7 separate regions of the Homo sapiens genome follow, and all the other regions are linked to region 3. The links are contacts of gene promoters, found by promoter capture Hi-C in blood cells and fetal thymus (Javierre and others, 2016). All regions are on one chromosome and are shown on one strand. The core of a region is centred on a gene start or on the middle of the fragment in contact, and the rest is flanking DNA. Distances in the headings are between cores, read along the strand shown.

Evidence for each region. Contacts are between HindIII fragments. The CHiCAGO score rates a contact against its expected background, and 5 or more counts as called.
Region 1: a contact is called between a fragment that was not itself captured here and the fragment with the promoter of ATP5MC2 in region 3, in 1 of 17 cell types (naive B cells). The highest score is 5.4, in naive B cells.
Region 2: a contact is called between a fragment that was not itself captured here and the fragment with the promoter of ATP5MC2 in region 3, in 1 of 17 cell types (neutrophils). The highest score is 5.0, in neutrophils.
Region 4: the fragment with the promoter of NFE2 here is called in contact with the fragment with the promoter of ATP5MC2 in region 3 in 10 of 17 cell types (erythroblasts, neutrophils, total B cells and 7 more); the score reaches 13.6 in erythroblasts.
Region 5: a fragment that was not itself captured here is called in contact with the fragment with the promoter of ATP5MC2 in region 3 in 1 of 17 cell types (neutrophils); the score reaches 5.5 in neutrophils.
Region 6: a contact is called between the fragment with the promoter of SMUG1 here and the fragment with the promoter of ATP5MC2 in region 3, in 3 of 17 cell types (total B cells, M1 macrophages and naive B cells). The highest score is 7.2, in total B cells.
Region 7: a contact is called between the fragment with the promoter of CBX5 here and the fragment with the promoter of ATP5MC2 in region 3, in 4 of 17 cell types (erythroblasts, M2 macrophages, monocytes and 1 more). The highest score is 6.2, in erythroblasts.

What each region holds. Positions count from the first base shown.
Region 1 is chr12:54,215,921-54,219,731 of GRCh38, forward strand. No RefSeq gene overlaps it. Among named protein-coding and RNA genes, the nearest start is that of MIR3198-2, 14 kb to the right of the region's middle. RefSeq lists silencers at 80-265, 2,067-2,116. The HindIII fragment of the contact is 1,635 bases long and covers 946-2,580 here.
Region 2 is chr12:53,081,103-53,084,733 of GRCh38, forward strand. No RefSeq gene overlaps it. Among named protein-coding and RNA genes, the nearest start is that of SPRYD3, 3.5 kb to the left of the region's middle. The HindIII fragment of the contact is 7,282 bases long and covers 1-3,631 here.
Region 3 is chr12:53,674,724-53,678,337 of GRCh38, forward strand. It overlaps ATP5MC2 (ATP synthase membrane subunit c locus 2), which reads right to left and starts at 1,360. Exons shown (of 5, transcript NM_005176.7): 1 at 1,330-1,360. RefSeq lists enhancers at 1,062-1,511, 1,622-1,851. The HindIII fragment of the contact is 5,549 bases long and covers 1-3,550 here.
Region 4 is chr12:54,299,586-54,303,089 of GRCh38, forward strand. NFE2 (nuclear factor, erythroid 2) reads right to left here and starts at 1,430. Exons shown (of 3, transcript NM_001136023.3): 1 at 1,216-1,430. RefSeq lists a cis regulatory region at 1,202-2,176 and an enhancer at 1,577-2,317. The HindIII fragment of the contact is 10,882 bases long and covers 1-3,504 here.
Region 5 is chr12:53,018,550-53,022,305 of GRCh38, forward strand. It overlaps EIF4B (eukaryotic translation initiation factor 4B), which reads left to right. Exons shown (of 15, transcript NM_001417.7): 3 at 249-457; 4 at 1,361-1,477; 5 at 3,257-3,311. Among named protein-coding and RNA genes, the nearest start is that of EIF4B, 14 kb to the left of the region's middle. The HindIII fragment of the contact is 2,938 bases long and covers 85-3,022 here.
Region 6 is chr12:54,186,628-54,190,258 of GRCh38, forward strand. SMUG1 (single-strand-selective monofunctional uracil-DNA glycosylase 1) reads right to left here and starts at 2,358. Exons shown (of 4, transcript NM_001243787.2): 1 at 2,324-2,358; 2 at 1,192-1,275. LOC105369777 (a long non-coding RNA gene) reads left to right here and starts at 2,470. Exons shown (of 3, transcript XR_944984.2): 1 at 2,470-2,575. The HindIII fragment of the contact is 2,636 bases long and covers 34-2,669 here.
Region 7 is chr12:54,277,935-54,281,724 of GRCh38, forward strand. CBX5 (chromobox 5) reads right to left here and starts at 2,188. Exons shown (of 5, transcript NM_012117.3): 1 at 2,074-2,188. HNRNPA1 (heterogeneous nuclear ribonucleoprotein A1) reads left to right here and starts at 2,792. Exons shown (of 11, transcript NM_031157.4): 1 at 2,792-2,888; 2 at 3,452-3,568. The coding sequence starts at 2,874. SCAT2 (S-phase cancer associated transcript 2) reads left to right here. Exons shown (of 2, transcript NR_157844.1): 2 at 718-1,129. RefSeq lists enhancers at 1,551-1,640, 1,793-2,552, 2,071-2,120, 2,411-2,500, 2,511-2,570 and 1 more and a cis regulatory region at 1,587-3,790. The HindIII fragment of the contact is 6,592 bases long and covers 1-3,790 here.

The DNA of each region.
Region 1 (3,811 bases), core at 513-3,012, 540 kb after region 3:
ACAGGGCAAGCTTCCCAGAGGAGCCTTTTCTAGGGTTGCAGGGAGGACATTTCAGGAGCGGCCCTGAATGCGCCAAAGCTAGGGGATGGGACTGGCGAGTTGCCACGGGAGCCCACGTGAGGGTCTTCGAGGAGGTCTGCGCCACCCGGGTGCAACCCGAGGCTACGGTTCATCCAAACACACCTCGCCCCATCCGGCTGGGGAAGGACTTCCTGCAAGCCCTGAGTGGGGGTGTGTGGCGGGACCACCCAGGTGTCCATCCAGGTGGGCAGTGAGCGTGAGAGCACCTGGTCAGGAACCTCCCACCTCTCGGGCCCTGCAGCCGCTTCCGTGGGGGAAGGGCAGCCGACTTCACCTAAGCTTCCACCTACTGCATCTAACCCTTAACTGTATCTCCCGCCCCCACCACCCCTGACGGGTTCCCATTATAAGAGGGTTTCAGATAACTCACCTCCCACCCCGGGAACGACGTCATCACCCCTTCACCCTCTGCCACCACGTCTGACTCCAACGGGGAAGTCCTTCCTGGTGTCTGACCACCCTTCCTCCTGCTGCAGCTTCAGCTAAACCTAACAACTTCTGACCTCACAGGAGAAAGGGGCTGCCTTAACTTTCCTTCTCTGAGCTAAACAATCCAAATCTCCAGCCCCTTTTCCACGCTCACATCCCATTTTCCCGTTCTAACAAAGCTTTCCTTTAGGGGCCTGGATCTTCCGTTTTTCCCGCCTTCCGACGTCAGATCAATCCATGACAGCTTTCTGATTGGCTAACCCCTCCCTTCTAATTGCCCCTGTCACTTCAGAACCTCCCCTGCTGTATCAATATGTAAGTCCCACAGATGGCCTCAGTTTCCCTGGTAGGGAGTTGAGCCGCCTCTTGGCACCCTCTTGCTTTGGGAGGAGGGGTGTCCTGCTCAACTCACCCGAGTCATCTCTTCCCTGCCCAAGCTTCTGAACAGGACACTGCCACATTGTCATTCATCTGAAAAGCATTTATTGAGCGCCTACTATATGTCTGGCCCGAATTCTTGTCTCAGCTCACAGCCCTCCGGTTGCTCCATAGGCTTAGGGGAAGGAGCAGGAGATCTTGAAATGCCAATCTCCAGTCTGGAGCGTGGGGTAAGAGAACTGAAGTCGTCTGCGACTGAGTGAAGCCACCGAGGAGGGGCGGGGAGGTGGGACGCCTGCAGGTCTCGGCGCTCGGAAACCGCGGAGAGGAAGCATCGCTAGGCGCCCCACCCTCACAGCGCTCAAACCTGACGCCGGATTTCCCATTCTTAGCGCAAGGAAGACCCCTTGTGGCCATTGTGGGAAGAGTCAGCAAGGGAAAAAAAAAAAAGCGGGAAAAAAAACAAGCCAGAGCCGGGAGATGACAGCCTCAGCCCAGACTCCCTTCCAGTTCTTGCCTAGCGTGGGGACTTATTCTTTGGTCGTTGGGTGGGGGAGAGGGGGCGGGAGTTGATGCCCAGGCCCCACTCCCACACCCTCAGAACCCAACATTTGGGACTTTGGGAATAATCTTCTCACTAAACCACCCGGAAAAATAAAACAGAAACAATAGCAAATGTGACTATGGTTAGACTTCTGTAGGGACTTCTCAAGAAGCGGATGGGAGGCAGAAGGACGGGTCACAATAAAGGGATGAAAGAAATCAGGTCTTCCGGACGACCCCCTCCCTGGCTATGGGGAGGGGTAATTCTGGGAGACCCGGGCGGGTGTGGGATCATCTACCCACCCTGCGGCTCCTTCCCGCTCGCAGTGAAGGAAGGACGCTCAGACCAACAGGGGCTCAGGTATTCTGGGTGTCAGGACCCTTCCTCCTGCACGCATCTTACGCAGGGTGGGGCTGAGGGCGTGAGGGCACAAGTCATTGAGGACATGGAGGGAACCCACGCTCGTCCCGATAGATTGTCACGGTCCTGAGGCGGGACGGTCAGGACAGGGAAGATGTATTTCTTCCCCCTGCATCCCCTCCCGCACCGCGTCTGAACTCCTCTGGGAGCGCAAGAACAGTAACAATGCTGCGCCCCTTCCCCCACCCTTTGACTCCGCTCGCAACCTAGCCCGGGCCGGGCAGCGCGAATTTGCATACATTTGCATACCCAGCTGCGCACAGCTGCATTCGGCTTTGGGCCATAAATTCGTGGCTGGCGGCTCTGGGCGAGCAGGCCCCACGCGGGGCAGGCGTTCTCCCTGCGCGCCTCCGCCGCGGCTGTTCACGTCCCGGGTACTGGCGCGTTCTCACGCCTCCCTGAGTAACCGCTGGATCAGTCCTGCCCGGACCCGGCTCCCCTGGCTCGAGCCACCTTCTGGGCATGTCTGTCTCGCACTGGCGCAGGCCAAGCCTGCAATCTCAGATTCTGGTTCCTCCATTTCTCTTGGACTCGACTTGGTCAATGTCTCCTGAATGCGCTCATCTTTACCTGACGCCTTGGACCAGGGGCTTCTGGTGGGATTTTCCTGCTAGGACTGGTGCATAGCCTCTTAGGTGGTAGTCCTGCCTCTGGGGTTACCTTGCTAAAAAATTGGTCTAATGGAGGTCAACAGCTAAAAACTCTGGACTCCCAGGCTTGCAGAATAAAGCTTATATTGTTCACCCTTGCCAAAGAAAGCCCCTGACGTTCTGTCAGCATCCCCCTTCTCTAGCCTTATCTTCTGCATCATGGCCAGACTCAGGCACACAACAGCCAGCGCTTCGGTTACACAAAACTGCTCTGAGGGTCCCTAAGCTCCTCATGAGCTCTCTCACTCTGCCTGGACTTACCTGCACCTTGCTTCCACCTGGACTGCTCTTCTGCCCTCTTGTCTGTTTGACAGACACATTCTTTGAAAATCATTGCACAGACGTTCTTTCCTTTGGAAAGACCTCTGAGATTCCTCTCACCCCTGGCAATTGATAATGACATCTATTAGCACTTACTGCAAAAACATTTGGTCAGTTGCACTTACCAAATTGTGAGCTCTCACTTAAGACAGAGAATATGTCTGTTCTTTGCTGTATCCCACTTCTGGGCACAAAGTCTGAAGACCAGGAGATACTCAAATACTGAATAAATGAGTGAGGCCTTGACTATTTCAGGCACACATAGATACCCAGGGCTCTGGTGGTCCCAAGCAGCCTTTACATGACATCCCATGGAAGAGCCCCTCCTCTTGGTACTTTTTGGGTCCTTACGCATCTTGGCCCAAGATTGTGAGGGGTGAGAAACCAGGGGGATTATGAGTGGAGAGCTGATGCCGTGAAAAAGCACTGGACTCCGAGCCAAGAAGCTGAGGTTCAAACTCTGGCACCGCATGATCTTGGAGAAGTAACTGCCTCCTTCGAAGGCTGTTTCCTCACCTTAAAATGGGAATAATAGTGACTACTTAATAGGGACTTTGTAATGATGGAGCGAGAATAGTACATAAAATGCTTACTACATGTCTTAAGAGTCCAGACAGGTGACATGAGGTTCCATCTCACTCCCTTGCCCCCGAGAAGGAGAGCACCTCCACTAACAATCCAGGCCAAGAGGCTTAAGGAATTTTACCAGTATGCATTCTGCAAGAAAGTATGAGACAGCGGCCGGGTGCGGTGGCTCACGCCTGTAATCCCAGCACTTTGAGAGGCCGAGGCGGCGGATCATGTGGTCAGGAGATCGAGACCATCCTGGCTAACATGGTGAAACCCCGTCTCTACTAAAAATACAAAAAAAAAAAAAAAAAAAAAATTAGCCGGGCATGGTGGTGGGCGCCTGTAGTCCCAGCTACTCGGGAGGCTGAGGCAGGAGAATGGCGTGAACCCGGGAGGCGGAGCTTGCAGTGAGCCAAGA
Region 2 (3,631 bases), core at 1,043-3,542, 590 kb before region 3:
GGCATTTCCAAACTGTTACTGATGGTTGGTGATTCCACTCGGGATTTCCTCACCTTTAAGTTCCAGATGTGGGGCTCACCTTTTTGGCGAATTCTCCATCCATTGGCATGCTCAGGACCCAGTTGGTAATTTGTGTTTGGTGTCTACATGTATTTGAATAAACAACTTTATTGCCATATAACCGACATACAATAAACCATATATATTTAAGGTGTACAATTTATTCCTTTCTTTTTTTAATTAGAGACGAAGTCTCACTGTGTTGCCCAGGCTAGTCTCAAACTCCTGAGCTCAAGCAACCCTCCCACCTCAGCCTCCCAAAGTTCGAGGATTACAGGTATGAGCCACTGCACCTAGCCAAGGTATACAATTTGATAAGCTACTTATATACCTATGAAAATGAAAATGTCACCACACCCAAGATAGTGACCATATCATCATCATCCCTAAAAATTTCCTCATGCTCCTTTATAATCCCTCTCTCTCACTCTTTCATCCCTAGGAACCACTAATCTGCTTTTTGAAACTTTTTTTTTTGAGACAGAGTCTCACTCTGTCGCCCAGGCTGGAGAGCAATGGGGCAATCTTGGCTCACTACAACCTCCACCTCCCGGGTTGAAGGGATTCTCCTGCCTCAGTTTCCCAAGTAGCTGGGATTATAGATGCCCGCCACCACGCCTGGCTAATTTTTGTATTTTTAGTAGAGACGGAGTTTCACTATGTTGGCCAGGCTGGTCTTGAACTCCTGCCTCAGCCTCCCAAAGTGCTGGGATTACAAGCATGAGCCACCGCGCCCAGCCCACTAATCTGCCTTTTTGTCACTATCTTAGTTAGCATTTCCTAGAATTTTATGTAAGTGGAATCATACAGTAAATCCTCTTTGAGGAGGGATGTGTCTGGCTTCTTTTGTTCAGCGTAATTACCTTGAGAGATTCATCCATATTGTTGTTTGTGTTAATAGTTTTTATTTATTTATTTATTTGGGGCAGGGTCTTGCTCTGTTGCCCAGGCTGGAGAGCAATGGCGTGATCAAGGCTTATTGCAACTTCAAACTCCTGGCCTCAAGTGATCCTCCCACCTTGGCCTCTCGATTGTTCCTTTTTATTGCTGAATAGTATGCTATTGTTGGAATATATTACAATTTATTTATTCACTTGTTGATGGACATTTGGATTTTTTCAGTTTTTGGCTATTACAAATAAAGCTATGATGAATATTCATGTACAAGTCTTTGTATGGACATATTTCATCTTCTTTTTCTTTTTATTGAGATGGAGTCTCACCCTGTCACCCAGGCTAGAGGGCAGTGGCATGATCTTGGCTCACTGCAACCTCCACCATCCAGGTTCAAGTGATTCTTGTGCCTCAGCCTCTCAAGTAGCTGGGACTACAGGCATGTGCCACCACGCCTGGCTAATTTTTTTTTTTTTGTATTTTTAGTAGAGATGGGGTTTCACCGTATTGGCCAGGCTGGTCCAGAACTCCTGACCTCACGTGATCTGCCCACCTTGGCCTCCCAAAGTGTCATTTTCTCTTAAGTAAATATCTAGGAGTGAATGGCTCAGTCACATGGTAGATGTACGGTTCTTAATTGGTTAAAAAGCATCACACTGTTTTCAGAAGTAGTTGTATCATTTTACATTCCTATCAGCAGTGTGTGAGTGTTCTAGTTGTTCCACATCCTTGCCATCACTTGGTATGGTTATTCTTTTTACTTTCAGCCTTCCTAATAGGTAGGTATCACAGTGTATGAGGGTTCCAATTTGTCTACATACTCAACAACACTTGTTATTATCTCTTTTTGATTATAGCCACTTAGTGTGAAGTGGTATCTCATTTCACTTTTGATTTCCATTTCCCTAATGACTAACGAGGTTGAGCATCTTTTCATATGCTTATTTGTCATCCATATATCTTCTCTGGTGAAGTATCTGATTAAATCACTTGCTCATTTCAAAAAATTGTTTCTTATTGCATTTTGAAAGTCTTTATATATTCTAGATTCAAATTCTTTATCAGATATGTGCTTTACAAATATTTTCTTCTAGTCTGCAGCTTGTCTTCTCATGTTTTTAACGGAGTTGTTCAGGCTGGGCATGGTGGCTCACACCTGTAATTCCAGTGCTTTGGGAGGCCAAGGCAGGGAGAATTGCTCAAACCCAGGGGTTCAACACCAGCCCTGGCAATACAGTGAGACCTGGTCTCTACAGAAAATTTAAAAATTAGCCAGTCTGTTGGCACACACTTGTAATCCTAGCTTCTTGGGAGGCTAAGATGGCAGGATCACTTGAGCCCAGGAGGCAGAGGTTGCAGTGAGCCATGGTTGTGCTGCCACTGCACTCCAGCCTGGACAACAGAGTGAGACCCTACCTCAAAAAAAAAAAAAAGTTCTGCCGGGTGCAGTGGCTCACAACTGTAATCCCAGTACTTTGGGAGGCCGAGGTGGGCAGATCACCTGAGGTCAAGGTCGGGAGTTCGACACCAACCTGACCAATATGGAGAAACCCCATCTCTACTAAAAATACAAAATTATCCAGGCGTGGTGGCGCATGCCTGTAATCCCAGCTACTCGGGAGGCTGAGGCAGGAGAATCGCTTGAACCAAGGGGGCTGAGGTTGCGGTGAGCCGAGATTGCACCATTGCACTCCAGCCTGGGCAACAAGAGTGAAATTCCCTCTAAAAAAAAAAAAAAACGGGCTGGGCATGGTGGCTCACGCCTGTAATCCTAGCACTTTGGGAGGCAGAGGTGGGTGGATTGCTTGAGCTCAGGTTTGAGACCAGCCTGACCAACATGGTGAAACCCTGTCTCTACTAAAATATAAAAAATTAGCCAGGTGTGATGGCACACACCTGTGATCCCAGCTATTAGGGAGGCTGAGACAGGAGAATCGCTTGAACCTGGGAGGCGGAGGTTGCAGTGAGCCGAGATCGTGACATTGTACTTCAGCGTGGGTGACAGAGCAAGACTCCCTCTCAAAAAACAAACAACAAAAAAAAGTTCTATGTGTTAGGTTTGCATTTAAGTCTATAATTATATAATTTAGGGTCTCATTCTATTGCCCAGACTGGAGTGTAGTGTTGCGATCTCAGCTCACTGCAACCTCCACCTCCTGGGCTCAAGCAGTCCTCTCATCTCAGCCTCCTGAGTAGCTAGGACTACAGGTGGACACCACCACAGCTGGCTAATTTTTATATTTTTTGCAGAGACAGGGTTTCACCATGTTGTTCAGACCTGATCTTAAACTCCTGGGCTCAGTGATCCACCTGCCTTAGCCCCCACCAACTGTTGGGATTACAGGTGTGAGCCATAGTGCCTGGCTCCTCTATCTGTATGTATTTGTTACTATAGCTTTATAATAAGTCTTGAAATCAGGTAATATAAGTCCTCCAACTTTCTGTTTTGCATTTCCATGTGAGATAATCAGCTTGCCAATTTCTATTGAAAAAGCCCCTGGCGGCCTGGCACAGTGGCTCACACCTGTAATCCCAGCACTTTGGGAGGCTGAGACAGGCAGATCACCTGAGGTTGGGAGTTCGAGACCAGCCTGACCAACATGGAGAAACCCCACCTCTACTAAAAATACTAAATTAGCTGGGCATGGTGGTGCATTATGCCTGTAATCCCAGCTAC
Region 3 (3,614 bases), core at 110-2,609:
AGGTGTGAGCCACCACACCCAGCCTTAATTACTTTTAAGTTAATGGATGTCTTCAACTCTTGTCCTATCTAGAACTCTGATTTTTGCCTATATGTAACTCTAACCCAATTTTGCTGCCGTACTATTCAGGTTTTCTTGGGTCAAAATCCAATAGTTCTTTAAGGCTTTTAGAAAAAGAAGGGGTGGTTCTTTTCTAAGGGAATTATACCTTATTATCTTCTTTGTAAAATGCAGCTCTTAGGGGGATTAAGTATGTTCATTTACAAATTAACATACATAAAGAGTTTAATGTGGTGCTGGCATATAATAAACCCACAACAAGGGGTGGCAATTAAGTGATCCCACCATTGGCTATCTAACCATGGCAACTCTGCAATTGTTAGCCTACAACTTGGGCAAAGGCACTATCCAGAATCAGGACTCCAAAATCATCACGGGCTTTTTCCTCAGTGTAGATGAGTCACAGGGGTAGTAACTTAACTATTCCTTTCCTTAAACCTTCTTTTCCTTGTAACAGCAGAATCTGGGGAGGTTAATTAATCCTTCACAGGAAAGCTGGCAGGCAGGGTCTCATGCTGGCCCCACTAGCTTGGCCTTACCCCACCTTTCTGGGCCTGCTGCCTCAACAGAAACCCTCATCTCTAGCCCACCATTTGTGACTTTTACAACTTCACCAGCGTGCCGGGATGCGAGAAAGGTACTGGTAAATAACTAGTGATTCCAAAGCAACCAGCCTCTCTCTTCTGCCTTAGCTATCCCAAGCCACAACCTAACGGGAGGCGATGTTTTGGCTTTTTTTCCCACTTCTACCATGTTCAAGGTTTACTTTTTAAATTGAGGGGTGCTGACTAGAGGGATTGGTGACTTTAGACGATCCACTATCTCCATTGCTCGGAGCACCTGAGGTTCTGGGGCCTAAAGTCTGGAGATTTCAGAATAAAGAAGGCACAAGTCAGGATGAGAAGAGAAAGCAGAGATAGGAGGGGAGAGCCTGGGGGTTGTCACAATCTGAAAGGGCCAGAGGGCGAGAAAAGAGTGTTTGCAGGGACTGGGTGGAACAGGTGAAAAGCAGCACTCCAGGATCTAACTTTGGCCAGCTCCAAGGTATCCTCCCCCTGCGAGACATCCAAGATGGCGCCAGGCCCGCGCGGTTGGAGGTCACCGGCACGCGGAAGAGCCAACTCTAAGGCTAAGGGATAGCGGAAGCAAGAAAGGGCGAGAGGACCAGGGTGGGAGCACGCAAGGTAAGCGCCTCAAAGCATCCGCGCAAGGTGAGGTGTCCCGCGCGCGTGCGCAGCGCACAGAGGGCTCTAGGTCCCAAGGCCTTACCTGCTCCCACTGCAGAGAAGACAGAGAGGGGCGGAGCAGCGGGAAGAGCGAAAGGAAGGCTCAGCGCATGCGTGACCCGGGCCAACGAGTCGCTCAGCCACGGATAGAGTGATTGCAACATACAGGATCAGCTCAGGCATCACAGCGCCGCCTGCCAGGGCTGTGGCGGTATCCGGCCGGTTGCTCCACCTGGCGTTCGAGAGGAGAAACTACAGGGAGCGCCGACTGCAGAAATGAGGCCAACTCCGCGGAGTAAGCCGATCCGTAACGTGGACTGCGGTTTGGTCTGTACCGCGTTTGGGATCTCGGACTTGCGTCCCCTTTCCGAGCATGCGCAGTCGTCACACTGCCAAAACAAAACTCCTACTCAGAATTCAGTGTTAACATACGGTCGGGATTGGGGTTCAGTGCCTAAAATGCAGCAGGAGGAAGATCTTGGGAGTCCTGCTTTCTGTCGCGCCGGGACTCTGGCATCACTGGATGGCAAACCGGCTCCATGGGCGAATAGTCAGCAAAATGCCGCAGCTGCTTCTGGTGGCTTCGCCCTTTCCCCCACTCCCCGTTTCCTCCTTTCCATTCCGGTGATAAACCATGAGAGAAGCAGCATCAGCGAGCCAGAAGATAGGGTTAAATATGATCCGAATCCCTCTTTCCTGGCTCCTGGGACAGTCTAGGAATAACGGGCACCTGCGACCCGCTGTAAGGTTGCGAGGTCACTCCAGGCTTGCCCGAGCCTCTGCTCAGGTTTCAACTACGCGAGTTGGGATAAGCAGCGCCCTCCCCTCCCGCCCCCATGCTCTCCTGAACGTGGGTTTTCTCTCCCCTTTCGCTCGCCCTTCCCCTGATGGAAGGAGGTGGGGGAGGCTTCCTGGCCCTCATCTTTCCTAGGCCTCCTTGTCTCCCAGACAGGACCTGCCCTGCCCTTTGGAACAGGGCGACAAGGCCTATCCAGTTCCAAACCCCTGCCGTCCCTGCATCGTGCTTGAACGCAGCACGAGAAAGACGGGAAAAGCTCACCAAACCCCATAAAAAATAAAAAATAAAAAGAAAGCCGCGGCTGTAAATAAAGGCAAATCCGCCACTCTCTGAGGGGCCGTTTGTCCTCCCCTCCTTGGCCCCGTCCTTCCCGCCGCCCCCTCCCGGCTCCCGGGCCCCGCGGCGCCCCGGCCCCGAGCTCCTCCATTTAATCGGATTTGGGAGAAGGGGAGGATAAATCACGGCAGCAGCTTTACGGTCCCGGAGGAGAGGCGAGCCGCAGACAGGCACACCCCGGCCGGCGATAAAAACCGCCGCTGAAAGCCCACGGAGCAATTTCCCGGGACCCCGAGCGACGCCATTACAGGAATGTAATTTTGCCCGGATGAGGCCCCGAGTTTAATTATCCTCGCGGAGGAATTTCAATGCGGCCAATCCATCTTGCAGGCGGGCGGCAGAGGGATTTATATGGGCCCGTTATTTCACACCGATCCTCCATCTGCATTTTTATGGCCCTGAGCTCCTGAAAGGGAGGGGAAGGAGTGGGGAGAAATAGGAGAAGCGGGCGAGAAGAGGAGGGTGGTAGACTGCCTGTCTTTCCTAAATTCGCATTTCCAGCTCCATCAGGATTCTCACAGGTTCCTCTGAAATCCCCAAATCTCCAGTTTTAGTTGTTGATTGCGCCCCGAGCGGGCAGGTACGTGGGAAATGGAACTGGGATCTTTGGGAATCAATCAACAGGTATTTATCAAGTACCAAGTGGTGCCAGGCACTGTGGAGATGCTGTTAGGAGAAAGACAGGCTAGCAAAGACACAAGTTTATCCCCTGAGGTCTCCAGACATCTCCATTCCCACCAAAACGGAATTCTTTTAAGCTGTCAGCTTCACATCCTCAGTGGCAGAGAAAGTCCACAGTTCTTAGGAGCCACCACCCCCAAACGGCTGTTGCAGCTGTTGCGACAATTTAGACACTCAGATATGGCTAACAATCCCAGAGGAGGATCAGAGAAGGGGCCTGGGAGGAAGCTAAAGCTGGCTCTTTCCAAAAGTTGTTACAGCCTGCGATGTTTAACACTCCCTTGCCCTCATAGAATAATGGGTTCTGCGTTCAGACAAATCTGGGTTCCCAAATTGCTGTGTGATCTTGAGCTAGCTGTTTAACCCCCTCTAAATCTATTTCCTCCTATGTAAATTGAGAAGAATAATAGTACTTATCACACAGCCAATATTGGGATAATACATATGAAGCTTTTAGCAAGGTACTTGGTACCCAGTAAGAGTTCAGTAATTGCTAGCATTAAAATCATCAT
Region 4 (3,504 bases), core at 180-2,679, 620 kb after region 3:
CCCAGAAAGATTTTTATCATAATCCCTAAGTACTCACAGAATGATACGGAGCTTCATGATTAGGAATACAGAGTGAGGACTATTCGGAGAGGGATGATGGAGAGAGGAATACATTTGGCCTTAGCTGCTGCCCCAGGGCTCTTAACTTCCTTAACGAGGGGGAACGATGAGAGGGGGCTTGCCTCAGGATCCCTTTTCTGAGGCTTATTTGACCACCTCACCTCTCCAGGTGTCAATAGGTGCAGTGAAAGGATGAGGAGGGATTAGTAAAACTTGGGGTATTGGTTAACCGGTAAGCAACCTATTTAGAAAGATTAGGGAGAACTCCCGAAGAGAGAGAGACACACAGAGATGAGACAGAATGAAGGGGAAAAAAAGGAGGGAGAGAGATTTAAGCATAGTGAGCTCAGTGCCCTAGGGACATGCATGACTCAAACAAATGTGTGAGAACAAAGAAGAGGGGGACGAGTTTCTGCTATTGTGTCACTTCATCCCTGGACCCCAAACTCCAGTCCTTTGGTACCGATGTCTAGGGGATCCCAGCCCCAGCAGTTCTGATACCTCCTCTCTTCTCTTCCACTGCTTCCCAAGCCCCTATTTCCCAAGCAGCCAAGAGTTCCAGTTAGAAGCAACTATGCTGGGGTTGGGATGTCTTCCTTCTCCCTCCAGGTCCAGCTGATCTCTACTGCCCCTGGGCACAGAGAAGAGAAAGGGCAAAGGAGCCAACAACCCAGAGGCAATCTCCCATCCAACCCCCGCACCTTGCAACACTTCTCAGAGGTTCAGATATCCAGTGTTTCCAATTCCTCAGCTTTCCCTAAACCTTCTCAGCTGCCTAGACAGGGCAGAGTAATGGAATGGAGTTGGGGAAAGGGTAGTCTATTGGTTCCCTCAGGGTAGCCCACCAGTTGAAGGATTCCTCCTGGCTACTCCCCAGCCCCTCAGCGGTGCCTTGCCTCTGGAGACCCCTCTCTGATCCCCATTCACAGCCTCCACCCCAAGGATCCCAGAGCACCCAAGAAACCACTTAGGTCTTCTCCTAGAGGAGTTCCCAAATATGTCAGATTCCTAAACCAGGGGCAATCTAGAAAGTCTGAGGTCTCCTAGGATACCGAAAGTTGGTTATTTTCCCCCCTCACCTCCTTCACCCCCCAGCCTGCCCCTCGGATCTCACTGGAATCCGCCCCCCCCACACACACCCTGCCTTTCAGGCACCTGTGGTGGAGTCACAGCAGGGTGAGGAGAGAGATGAGGCTCCCGGTGTTGTCTCTGGGGAGGCTGAGCCTGAGCTGACACTGCTGGACGAGGATCCCGGCTACCTTTGAGAATCTGCGAGGACCGCGCCCCGCCCCCGGGCCATTGCTGAGCGCTGAGTGTGGAAGCTCAGGCTGAGCTGAGCACAGGAGCCCCAAGCAGGCGCACCAGCGTCTGAAGCCCTCGGCCTGAGTTCTCAGTCCTTCCTCCAACCCTCCCCTTTCCCCGTGGCTCTCCTCTCCTCCTGCCCCTTTCGGCCAAGAGAGGAAACTTGAGCCCGATGTGGTTTCTGCCCACACCCCGCCCCCACCTTGCTCCTGGCCAGCGGGGGCACACATGGCTCCAAGCCTCTCCCAGCCCTCCTTTTCAGCCCAGGAGTCCAGCCAGGTCTGCGTTTCTCCCATGCATTTGACGAATTCCAACCTGATGGTCCACTCGAATGTGACCTTTAAACTTTATACAGGTTGTCGTCGCCTTGTGTCCCCACGGCTCTCCTAGGGACAGGGAAACTGAGTCATATCAAGGTGGAAGGCAGCTGAAGGTAAGGACCAGGTGTCTAGCTTCCCAGCTGTCTAGGCAGTTGGACGTTTAGGGTATAGCCTTCATTTACAGAAAACCTGGGCTCTGGGAACAAGGGCAGGGGAACTATTTGGAGGAGGAGGGGCAACTGACTGCTTTGATGTGTCCTTTCACCTGTAGCCTTCTCCCCTCCCCCCTCAGCCTCAGAAGTCCCAGGACAAAGGATTCTTTCTTGGCCAGGTTTTTGTCAGTGTGTGAAGGGAGTTAGGTGGGGGGCCACCCAGCAGGGAGATTATTCACCTCCCGTAAAGGGGACCCCAGGTGTCCTTTGTCCTCCTTTCTCCCAGGCAAAGCACCCCAGCCACATGGCACCCAACTCTGTTAGGCCAGTAAGTACCCTTATTCATCTTTTTTTTTTTTTTTTTCCAGAGAGGGGCTCACTCTGTCTCCCAGGCTGGAGTGCAGTGGTGTGAACATGTTTCACTACAGTCTCAAACTCCCAGGCTTAAGCAATCCTCCCACCTCAGCCTCCCAAGTAGCTGGTTCTATGGGTCAGTGCAACCATGCCCAGCTAATTTTTTTTTTTTTTTTTTTTTTTGGTAGAAGTGGTGTCTCACTATATTGCCTTGGCTGGTATTGAATTCTTGGGCTCAAGCAATCCTCCCCTCTTGGCCTCCCAAAGTGCTGGGATTACAGGCATGAGCCACCTCACCCAGCCCACTTATTCATCTTTTTGCCTGCAAGCTACACCACCAAAGCCCCAGGTCAAACATCTTTCTCCACAGACTGTGAGAAAAGAGCCTTTCTTCCTCCTAATTTGTAATGGCTTTCAGCTCTATATGTCTAGCTTCAATCCTGACATCTGCAGCTTACATTTTTTCTTCTTACAATGTTCAAGTTAAATTAGAAACATCTGAAGACTGGGGAAGCAGATAGGTGCCACTCTGGAGTAGGACTGGCATTCAACCAGCATGCTCTGATGGGATTGTATTTGCTGTTAAAATAATGAAAATGTTCAGTCCTAGTTGATAAAAGGCAGCTGCTGTGAGCCCTCTAAGTGTCCCCCACGACTCCACCAATAGCCTAGTTCTCCTCTAAGATCCCCAACAACCCAGCAACACAACCATGGAAGTAAAGAGGCAATGCTGGTACCATAAGGAGCCTCCTGTGCTGCCTGCTTCTGCTGGAATTGGCCAATGCCCATGCCAAACCTATGGTTAAATGCTTTGAATTCCATCCCTTTTCCAGTAGATCATGACTGCACATGCATGATCAAGGTAAGACAGGAGGCAATCCAATGCCTTCATTACATGTTACATGTGGGTTCAGAATCTCTTCAGACTTGGGCATGAATCTGGGTCACATATGTAGGCTCTCAGATATAATTCTCTCATTTGCATATTTATTTGGGCCACTCAGAGGGGATGAAGAATGGTAACAGTCACACTTGTGGCTGACTATATAATGATATCAGGTTATAGATAGTCAACAAACATTTATTGAATAAGAATTATCAGTTCAGGATACTGGTGTTGCATAGACAATTATGGGTAACACAAGGCTCATCATTCATTCATTCAACAAATATTTATTGAGTGTCTACTATGTTTTACATCCCAGGAACACAAAGATGAGCAAGACAGTCTGTATCTTCAGTCAAGTCTAGTCAGGGAATTACATTAATAAGGTGTATATAATAAAATAAAATAAAATAGGCCAGGCACGGTGGCT
Region 5 (3,756 bases), core at 304-2,803, 660 kb before region 3:
CAGTAATATTCCATAAAGAGTTGTATTTATGGAATAATATTTCTTTGCTTACATAAAGATTAAGGTGTCATAATTAATCTCAGAAGCTTCTCTTCGTAAAGTGCCCTTATTACTGAACCCCCACTTTTTTTGGTCTGGTTTTCTTGTATAGCATGTTTAATATTTGGCAATTAACATGGGTCCTCTTGTTCTATGACAGTAGTGAGAGAAGTTTCTTCTAATTTCTTACATTCATTCCTCTATCCTAGTTTCGACCACTTGGCACAGTAACGATGACGATGTGTATAGGGCGCCTCCAATTGACCGTTCCATCCTTCCCACTGCTCCACGGGCTGCTCGGGAACCCAATATCGACCGGAGCCGTCTTCCCAAATCGCCACCCTACACTGCTTTTCTAGGAAACCTACCCTATGATGTTACAGAAGAGTCAATTAAGGAATTCTTTCGAGGATTAAATGTAAGTGTAAAAGTTGTAATAATTAACTAGATATTGAGGATAATGTCTAAAAAAGACTAATTGTGGAATGGGCAGTTGCTGTTGAAAAAACAACTAGAAATATAATTTAAGGCCGGGAATGGTGGCTCACGCCTGTAATCCCAGCACTCTGGGAGTCTGAGGCGGGTGGATCATTTGAGGTCAGGAATTCGAGTCCAGCCTGGCTAACGTGGTGAGACCCTGTCTCTACTAAGAATACAAAAATTAGCTGGGCGTGGTGGTACACGTCTGTAATCCCAGCTACTTGGGAGGCTGAGGTAGGAGAATTGCTTGAACCTGGAAGACGGAGGTTGTGGTGAGCCGAGATTGCGCCATTGCACTCCAGCCTGGGCAACAAGAGTGAAACACCATCTCAAAGAAAAAAAATAAAATCAAAATTATATATATATATATTTTTTTTTTTTCTTTTTTTTTTTTTTTTTTTTTTTTGAGACAGAGTCTCATTCTGTCATCCAGGCTGGAGTACAGTGGATTACATGCCCAGCTAATTTTTTGTATTTAGTAGAGATAGGGTTGCACTATGTTGGTCAGGCTGGTCTTGAACTCCTGACCTCAGAGGATCCACCTGCTTCGGCCTCCCAAAGTGCTGGGACTACAGGCATGAGCCACTGCACCTGGCCTGAATTAATCTTTTTTTTTTTTTTTTTAGAGTTAAATTCATACAGTTCAAAATTCAGAAGGTATAATAGGGCATTTAGTAAAGTTTCTACTATCCCTCTGCATCAGTTTTCCTCCTGAGACAACCATGTTCTTGTGTATTCAGAAAAATTCATGCACATACAGTAATGCTTTTGTAGTCCTCTCAAAAAATGACAAATGAAGAAGAATGCTGGGAAACTTTGTTGTTGATTCTTATTCCTTCAGATCAGTGCAGTGCGTTTACCACGTGAACCCAGCAATCCAGAGAGGTTGAAAGGTTTTGGTTATGCTGAATTTGAGGACCTGGATTCCCTGCTCAGTGCCCTGAGTCTCAATGAAGAGGTAAAGAAAATAAGAGTGGGGATATGAGGGGTGTAAGTTCACAAATCTCATGTTTATTGATCAAACTGGTATTTTTTAGGTTGAGAGGCTCACTTCAAAGATTCCCATATCTACAAATAAAGGCCTGCATTATTTAACAGTGTATCACTTAACATCGAACATCTAGCAAGTCACACTTCAGCAAATTCAGTAGGCCCCAATAATTTAGATAGGTACTTAGGTGGAAAGTTGTGGAAGAAACCCACCACACACCAGGTCTCTAATTAAGTCTTACACTGATTTACCCACAGTGTTGCCTCAACTCTTATGGCATTGCTTTTTCAAAGTAATCTGGCCTGATAAAGGCAAATAGAAAAATCAAGTTTGTTTAGTATTAAAGGCATATCTCATTTTCAGGGAAGTGTTGTAATGGTATATTTGTTCATTTAAGAGGATTTGGAAACATTTCCTACAAAGGAATATTTTACAGGAGAGTGACAATAAATATCTAGTCCTTCTGCTTGTCAACACTGCCCACAAAGGTTTTCCTGTCCCAGGACTTGAGGGGCTTATATCTCAGAAGAAAAAAGACTTTTTTCCTCCTTTAACTCCAAAAACACCTTATTGTTTATTGATAAGGCAATTTCTAGTGCCATTTGTGCCATATTTCTGTAGTCCTATTTTGCCATATGACATGATTGAAATCAACACCTCTTAGAAATAGTTTTGCTGCCTCATAATTGATTACCATCATGATAACCTGTAGTCAGTGTGAAATAGAGATAAAAATTAATGTACTTAGTTAAATGCATATGAAGGTCTAATCTTGTTCCAGAGTTACTCTTACTGGATTATTTTTAGATTTTTATTAACATTACTGGTCTCTAACTTTACTCAGTCTGGATAAGAAAAAGAATACCATGCAATTGTTAACTATTTGATGTTTACTAGATTAACTATTAATATATTGTTGTGGTCCATAGTTAAGAGTTACTTTGTTACTAGAGATTTCATTATAGTGGTGTTTAATATAGTTTTGGGTATTTTTAACTAAAAATCATTGTTATCCTTCAACTGTAGATTCTACTATGAAATGAGGAAAAATCAGCAATAGAATTAATTGGGTTCAAAGTATATAAATAATGATGTGGGAAAGGGAAGTCAGAGGGTATCTCTGGAAGAACTGATTTATCTGAAGGTAATACTGAGTGAAAGAACCTAAGATTGTAGACAAAGCATGCTTTATGCAATTTTGCTGGTACATAGTAGTAGTAGAGGCTCTATAAATGTGTTGGGTGTTTTTGTTTTTAAGAGACAGTGTCTCGCTATATTGCCCAGGCTGGATTTGAACTCCTGGGCTTAAGTGATCCTCCAGCCTCAGCCTCCCAAATAGCTGAGACTGTAGGTACATGCCACTGCACCTGGCTTCTATAAATTTTGATAAATAATTGTTGTGGCACCAAATATGCCTTTTATTCAGCTAGTTATGTGAGAATTATTTTTAATTTACTACACTTGACAAATTACCTTGGATAGTTAAAAAGTTAATTCTATTCTGTGAAATTAAGCTTTGTAAAAATAGTATAATTGACCTAATATTCAAGGCCAGCTTAAATTTGTTTAACTTTTAAGTCTTTTAAAGGACTCTTTAGCCCACAAATTGGAGTGTTAGCTAGATTACAGTGTTTTCCTTTATCTTCCTTCCCCTAGTGCTTCTGCTATGCCCAGACGTTCAAGGTCACTCAAGGGATTTGTGCATAATGGGGCAAAAGGTTGGTTAATATGGTCCTATGCTCTCAGTCTCTAGGTAACAGGAGAATTCGAGTGGACGTTGCTGATCAAGCACAGGATAAAGGTAAGGAAACTGGTAGAGATTTCTGTTTGGTAATGGTCCCAGGATGACACCAAGCCATCCTTTCCCAGAAAATTTGAATAGGGGTAGTGGTGGGCCTGCCTGAATCTACAGTAACAGTTTTCAATCAGTTTTGCCCCACAGGGGACTTCTGGCAATGTTTGAAGACATTGTAGTTGTCACAATTGGAGGGAGTGCTGCTGACATAAGTAGAATCCAGGGGTTAATTCTATAGGGAATAGGACAGTCCCCATCAACAAAGAATTATGCAGCCCAAAATGCATGTCAAGATTGAGAAGACTGATTGATCTAGATGAACATTAAATAGATGATAAATAGATTAGCTGCCTAACAGCACGTTGGTCACAAAGGGGACCTAATTTGTATATGTTTCAGGGACTCCTGGCCCATACAGAATTTGAGATAGCTAAGCATTAAACCAATAGGA
Region 6 (3,631 bases), core at 1,108-3,607, 510 kb after region 3:
CCGTGCCCAGCCTGGGAATCTGTATTTTAAACAAGCTTCCCAGGGTGATTCTGATGGTTGGTGAAGGCTGAGAACCACTGTGTGTCACCATGGTTACCGTCGTCTTAATGAATTCCTTTTGCCTCCCCAGCTAAACTTGGGCAGATCAAGAGCCAGGCCTTGTTCAATCTCCCTCCATAAGCCCAAGGTCCTGGCCCTTATTAGGTACTCAACAAACACCTGCTCAGCAATGTCCATCTTCTTTTTCACTTTTGTTTAAAACTACCTTCTGTGCTGGGCACAGTGGCTCATGCCTGTAATCCCAGCACTTTGAGAGGCCAAGGCAGAAGAATTGCTTGAGGCCAGGAGTTCAAGACCAGCCTGGCTGACATAATGAGACCCCATCTGTAAATATAAAAATAAAATAAACAGCTTTTACCAAGGAGGCACTCCTGATGGATCCTTCTCCACTTCTATATCCTGAGTTCACTCAAGGCTTAGCTGCCCACTTTGCACTCTGCTTGTTTTCCAGACTCTGGGTCTGTGCCCATCATATGTGTGCCTCCCATGCGACAAGGACCATTGTCATTCCTTCCTCTCAACTTTCTGCCTGGGTCAGGAGTGACTTCTCCAAGATAAGAACTCAAGGTTGACACAACAGCTCGATAAACCTATTTTCTCACCCTAGCCTAGGGGAAGTGGGAGAGAAAAGAAATCAGAGGCCCAACTTAGGAAGTCCTTCCCTGACTGTCTCAGTAGTCTTTAACTGATCTGTTGTCCAGGTGGCTACCCAGGACAAACTGGGCTCATACAAAAGCTGAGAAGGGTGCTGTGGAGAACGCCAGTGTTTCAGGGGACCTTGCTTTGCATCTCCCCATGCAACACCAACATTAGCAGATTGGCTGCTCCAGCTCTAGAATCTCGAGAAGTCTTGAGCCCACCTTTGACATTTAGACACCTGTGTTGGAAACAGCAAGGCTGGGGAAAAGAGTGGCAAGATACTACTTTCATTGTTCCATAACTTCAAAGCCTGATCTCATAGCAAGAGCCACAGGCTGGAAGTCAATTGATTTGAATTCTACTCCTGTTTCATCTCTAAGAAGGTTCTCTTGAGCAACTCATTTAACTCTCTTCTCTATGGAAAATCACATACTCCATCCAACCTACCACCTGTTAACTCATTTTTTTTTTCAATACTTATGAGTCTCTTACATGACAGGCACTGCAGCAGTCTCTTGATGAGGAAGAAATCCAAAAAGAGTAAAATGTAGGCCAGGCTTTCTGTAAGCTCATAATCTGCTGTGAGGGCAAATAAACAACTAACTGTAATACAGTGTGATGTGAGCTTTAATACCCGGAACAAAACACTAAGAGAACCCAAAGGAGGAACTTGTAAGTTCTACCCAAAGTCGCCCCAAGAGCCAGAGGCTTAAGAAATGTAGATATTTTATAAAATACGGTGTCATACTACATTAAGCACAAAGACAGCGGAGTTGGACCAAGCGATAAGGCTGACCACCAAGGGCCGACTTCAGACTGATGTCAGACTTCTCTGACATCAAATCCGGGAAGTGAGGAAGGAATCGAAATCACATATGCACTCCCCTGTCCTTTGGAGGCACTCCGGGAGTCCAGGGACAATAATAAATATCCTTAAACGAAATAATAATAATAATAATAATAATAATAAATAATAATAATAATAATAATAATAATAATAATAATAATAATAATGCATAGGCCGGGCGCGGTGGCTCACACCCGTAATCCGAGCACTTTGGGAGGCCGAGGCGGGCGGATCACGAGGTCAGGACTTCGAGACCAGCCTGACCAACATGGTGAAACCCAGTCTCTACTAAATACAAAAATTAGCTGGGCATGGTGGCGCGCGCCTGTAATCCCACCTACTCGGGAGGCTGAGGCAGAAGAATCGCTTGAACCCGGGAGGCGGAGGCTGCAGTGAGCTGAGATCGCGCCATTGCACTCCAGCCTGGAATTCAGAGCAAAATTCCGTCTCAGAAAAATAAATAAATAAACAATAATAATAATAAAGCATAAACTCAAAAAGACCATTTCATCTGGTTCCAAAGGGGCCGACTACTAAGGCACCATACAAAACCTCCGGGGGCGCCCGCTGGCTCCGGCCGACTGGAAAGCCTTGATCCTGCAGACCTCCCAGGCGGTTTCATAGGCTGGGCTCTCCCTGCACTGAGTCTTACCCCATACGGAGGGAGGGACCCCAAAATATAGAAATTCTAACCACCCTCTCGGCTCAGCCCCGACGACCCTGGGAGCCGTCAACTTGCCCCCACAGTCCCGGATTCCCAGCCCCCTACTTCCTCACCTGGTCCAGCTCCCCATCCCGTTTCCGGTTCCTTTCCCCCACCCCAAACCCAACCCCCGGCGCTAAGGACAGTGGGAGTCGTAGTCTACATTGTTTAGGGAAGGAGATTGGCGTACCCGCAGCCACTTCCGCCGGAAATGCTCCAATCCCGGAAGGCGCACTAAATTAGCCCTAAAGATCGCTGGGAATTGTAGTTTAATCTTTCCATCAGCGTTAAATCAGGAAGTCTTGAGAAGTGAAAAGCCACAGCCTGTAAGTACCTAGGAAATCCTGGGTTCTATCCCTAAAGGGCATCGCCCTTCCAAAAGTTCATTCACTATTTTCCCAAAGGGATTGCAAATCAGGAAGCTTCAACCATCCCCAATCCCTCACCCACCTGAAGGTATTAACAATAGCTAAAGACCATTGCTAGGCCCCCTGCCACCGTGGGTATAAGAGACTTCTCCTTTGCAGCCTGCCATTACTTATACAGAACATCCACGAAGACATTTCTGGTAGCTCCTAACAACTTTTTAGCAAGGGGCATCCCCCATTACTGTCCAAGCCCATCTCCAGAGTGTCACCATTTTGACTTCTTTCTCTGCCTTGCTATCTGCCCAACCCTATAACCTCAGTATTAGTCAAGAGTTTTCCAGAGAACAGAACTAACAGGATATCTATCTATATGACGAGATTTATTCCAAGAATTGGCTCACAGGATTGTGGAGGCCAAGAAGTCCCACAGTCTCCCGCTCTGCTGTCTATACACTGGAGAACCAGGAAAACAGGTGGTATAATTCAGGAAAGTCCAAAGCAGGGGAGGAGGCTCACTGCTAAGTCCCAGAGCCTGAAGGACGAAGAACCAGGAACTCCAATGATGTCCAAAGGCAGGTAAAATAGATGTCCCAGCTCATGAAGAAAGAGAATTTGCCTTCCTCCACTCTTTTGTTCTACTGGCCCCCAAGGGATTGGATGGTTCCCACCCATATTAATGAGGGTGATCTTCTTAGTCTACCAATTCAAATGCAAATCTCTTCCAGAAACACTCCACAGACATATCCAGAAATAATGTTTTACCAGCTATCTGGGTGTCCCTTAGACCACTCAAGTAGACACATAAAGTTAGCTATCACTCTTCCATCCAAATCTTCTCCCTCAAATACTTTGTCCAGGAAGGCTTCCCTGATCAATCCTCATCCCATGGCTGCACCTAACAGTCCATTCCCCCACCATTCCCCCATCCCAATATCTATGTCCAAATCTGTCCTATTCCTAGTTTTGTTCTTGTGCTCTATCTGGGTCTGGTTCTGTGTCGTGACTCTAAAACTT
Region 7 (3,790 bases), core at 938-3,437, 600 kb after region 3:
CTCCTGAACTCAAGCCTCCTACCTCAGCCTCAGCTTCCAGAGTAGCTGGGACTACAGGAACACGAAACTGTGCCCTGCATACTCCAGTATTTTAAATGAATGGTTTTCAACCAAGGGAGATTTTATCCCCCATCCCTACCTCCCCGGACATTTGGCAATGTCTGGAAACAATCTGTCACAAATGGGGATGTGGCGAGTGATGCGATGTTACTGGCATACAGTGGGTAGAGGCCAGGAATGTTGCTAAATATTTTACTATGCACAGGACACTCCGAGCACCCTCAACAAAGAATTATCTGCCTCAAAATACCAACAGTGCTAATGCTGAGAAACCTTGCTGTAGGTCAAGACTGTATTCCTTCCAAACCTAAATAAATCCAGGACAGATACCCTTAACCAGTATCACTTTAGTTCTCAGAAGCTCAGCAACTCCATTACTAGCATACCTACAAATAGGTTTACAGCCAGGTATAAATTATAGGTTTGTCCTTTTGCTAGTGCCAGAGAACATGGAAATCTCTCCTCTGTTCATAAACTGCTATTAAAATCGTCTGTCTTTGGTATAAAGTCGGAAAGGTCTCTAATTATAAGTGTATTTCATAGGTAGTTGATTTTCAGTATTTAAATATTTTCCCTTGATCCTGAATAAATTATTGAATAAAGCAGTAAGACTCTGATACAGCCAATGTTATCAAAATTTATTTATTTCTCCAAAAGATCCTGGAATAAGCAGAGTGGGCATTACCAAAAGGAGATAGACTGCATGTAAAACACACTTCGAAGGAAATCTAATTAAAAGGCAAGGAATAATCCAGGTGATGGATGAATCTTCTGTCCCCAGAACCCTAAATATTACCCTCTTTGTTTCTTTTTTATTCCAAAGTCAGATATCCTCAAAGGAACAGCAAAAAGAGGGACTTTAGGATATCTTCAATGGTGTAAAGAAAAGAAATATATGAAAGTTCCCGGGAGAAAGAGACTAAAATAAAAGCACTGGGCACATGGATTACATAAAACAGAAAAGGGGTTGTAAGTATGTGATTATGACTAGAAACACAAAACAATCGACTTCATTTTTTATTTAATTTTAATCACAAATTATTAACCTTGCAAAGTTTTAAACATTAAAGATCTAATCTGCCTCGATCCTACTGTGTCCCTAGGATTGACACTTTGGTGTGTAGCTTTCCAAAACTTTTCTGTGGACCTACAAACATATTTGTCAGTAGAAATATGCACTATCAGGAAGGAGATATTTCTTGAACGCCTTTCCATGACAGTACATAGAGATTTCTCCCATTCGTTCTAACATTTTAACAGTCTTCCTAAAGAAGCGACTTCTGAAAGTATTATTTAAAAACAAACAAACAAAAAAAAACAACTCCTGTTCCCCAAACCTCAAGTGGTGAGGGGGCGGGGGAAAAATGCTCAAGTCGAGGAATACAGGAGCAAACTTACGCTTTCAAGGAGGTGTATGGGACTGAGGCCTAAAGGCTTCGTTAGAGAAGTCATCGTGGATAAAACATCCACCCTCACACGCCATTACAGGCACCGACTCCCCTTCCTCACAACCCCAAATCGAAGACCTCCCTCTTTTGGAGAGCCGATTGGACGACTGGTCCCAGCGCTTTCCTTAGGCTGTCCGTCTACTGGTTCCAGATTCGTTCCATCCGTTTAACCGCCCGATCCCGCATTCCCCATTGGAGTCAAACCGCTGCCTCCTGGAGAAGCCCAACCTACCGCGCGCTTCCTGCTCACTGGCTCAGTGAGACGCTGCTCAGAAGGGGAAAACCCGTCTCCCACATTCCGATGGCCCAAGGGCCGATCAGTCGGCAGCTCAAGGCAGACCCAATTGGCCTATACACAAGCCAGTCAAAGTCTTCGGCTGCACAGCTCCAAAGAACCTACGGGGATTAAAACATCCCGCCCCCTGTTCTTCTATTGGTTGGCCCGACCCACCGCTGCCCCTTCACTATCCCCCCACCCCGCCGTCCATTCATTTCACACAATAACGGGCCCAAATGGAGTCAGTTCAAGACCTACTATGGGTAGATAAGACTGTCTGCCACTTACCCGGGATTGAGAGTGATCACTCACGCTAACGTCTGCCCTGTTCCTGTATGGTGAGGCCGCACCACAAGCCACCACCGCCGCCGCCTTCTGCGCAACGCCAACCGCCCGCCAAAACGGATCCTTCCCTGCGCCTGCGCAACCAATCCTGGGACCGGACCTTTTTTCTCCGCCCACTACGCATGCGCAAAGCTAGGACAAACTCCCGCCAACACGCAGGCGCCGTAGGTTCACTGCCTACTCCTGCCCGCCATTTCACGTGTTCTCAGAGGCAGGTGGAACTTCTTAATGCGCCTGCGCAAAACTCGCCATTTTACTACACGTGCGGTCAACAAGAGTTCATTGCAAAAAAATTGTTACCTCCTGGCTGCTTGTCTAATACATAGTGTTAATCATGCTTTGCCAAGCGACTTGACTGTAATATTTGCGCGTGGAAGATTAAAAAGATGTTAAACACCCAAGGTAGATTCAAATGTGAATGATTGGTCGGTTGGCCAATCAGACTGGTTAACAATAACATTACTCGGGAACCAATGGACTCCAAGGGGTGGAGACGGCGTAGAACGACCGAAGGAATGACGTTACACAGCAATGTGGCACCACAGGCCAATAGCAGGGGGAAGCGATTTCAAGTATCCAATCAGAGCTGTTCCAGGGCGGAGTCTACCAATGCCGAAAGCGAGGAGGCGGGGTAAAAAAGAGAGGGCGAAGGTAGGCTGGCAGATACGTTCGTCAGCTTGCTCCTTTCTGCCCGTGGACGCCGCCGAAGAAGCATCGTTAAAGTCTCTCTTCACCCTGCCGTCATGTCTAAGTCAGAGGTGAGTTAGGCGCGCTTTCCCACTTGAATTTTTTCCTCTCCCTTTCCTGAATCGGTAAGATGCTGCTGGGTTTCGTTCCTTGCACCAGCCCATTCTACAGTTCCTTCGGTCGCTGCCACGGCCTACCCCTCCCAAAGTTCAAGTCGCCATTTTGTCCTCTTGATCGCCATGAGGCCGCTCTCCGCCAACCATGAGTTATCATGCGGGACTCGTTACTCGTAGCAAAATTCTTAGGCACACAGGATCTTTGTCTTTTTTTAAACCTTGCCTTGGTGAGCGAGTTTTCTAAAGAGCGATTAGTCCCATTGTGGAGATGCACCCCTACCGCCCAAGCCTTTGTTGCGCGTGCGTCGGAAGGCGACTAGGGACGCATGCGCTTGCGATTTCCTAGCACTCCCAACTCCAGCATACGGCCTCCCTTGATAGGCAGAAGCACGTGTCTTGTTGCGACCTGAACGAACAATAAGTGCTAGGTACACAGTTGGTGTCTAGTTTTTCTTTTCCTCGATGGAAATTGTTTCGTGTTGTAGCCCATTTAACACTTCCCCCTCCCCCCACTCTAGTCTCCTAAAGAGCCCGAACAGCTGAGGAAGCTCTTCATTGGAGGGTTGAGCTTTGAAACAACTGATGAGAGCCTGAGGAGCCATTTTGAGCAATGGGGAACGCTCACGGACTGTGTGGTAAGATTTGGAAGGGACAAAGCAGTAAAACAGCCGATTTCCTTGGCTTATCTTGGTGCAGTCTTCTCCGAATGCTTATGAAAGTAGTTAATAGCATTATAGTTAGAGCTTTGTTGGCAAAGGAACGTCCTGCTTTGATTTTAAAAGCTACCTCTTAAATCTAGGGTAGTGGGAAACTGGACGACTTTTTATAAAAGGCTGGTGTAAAGTTTCCTATTGCCC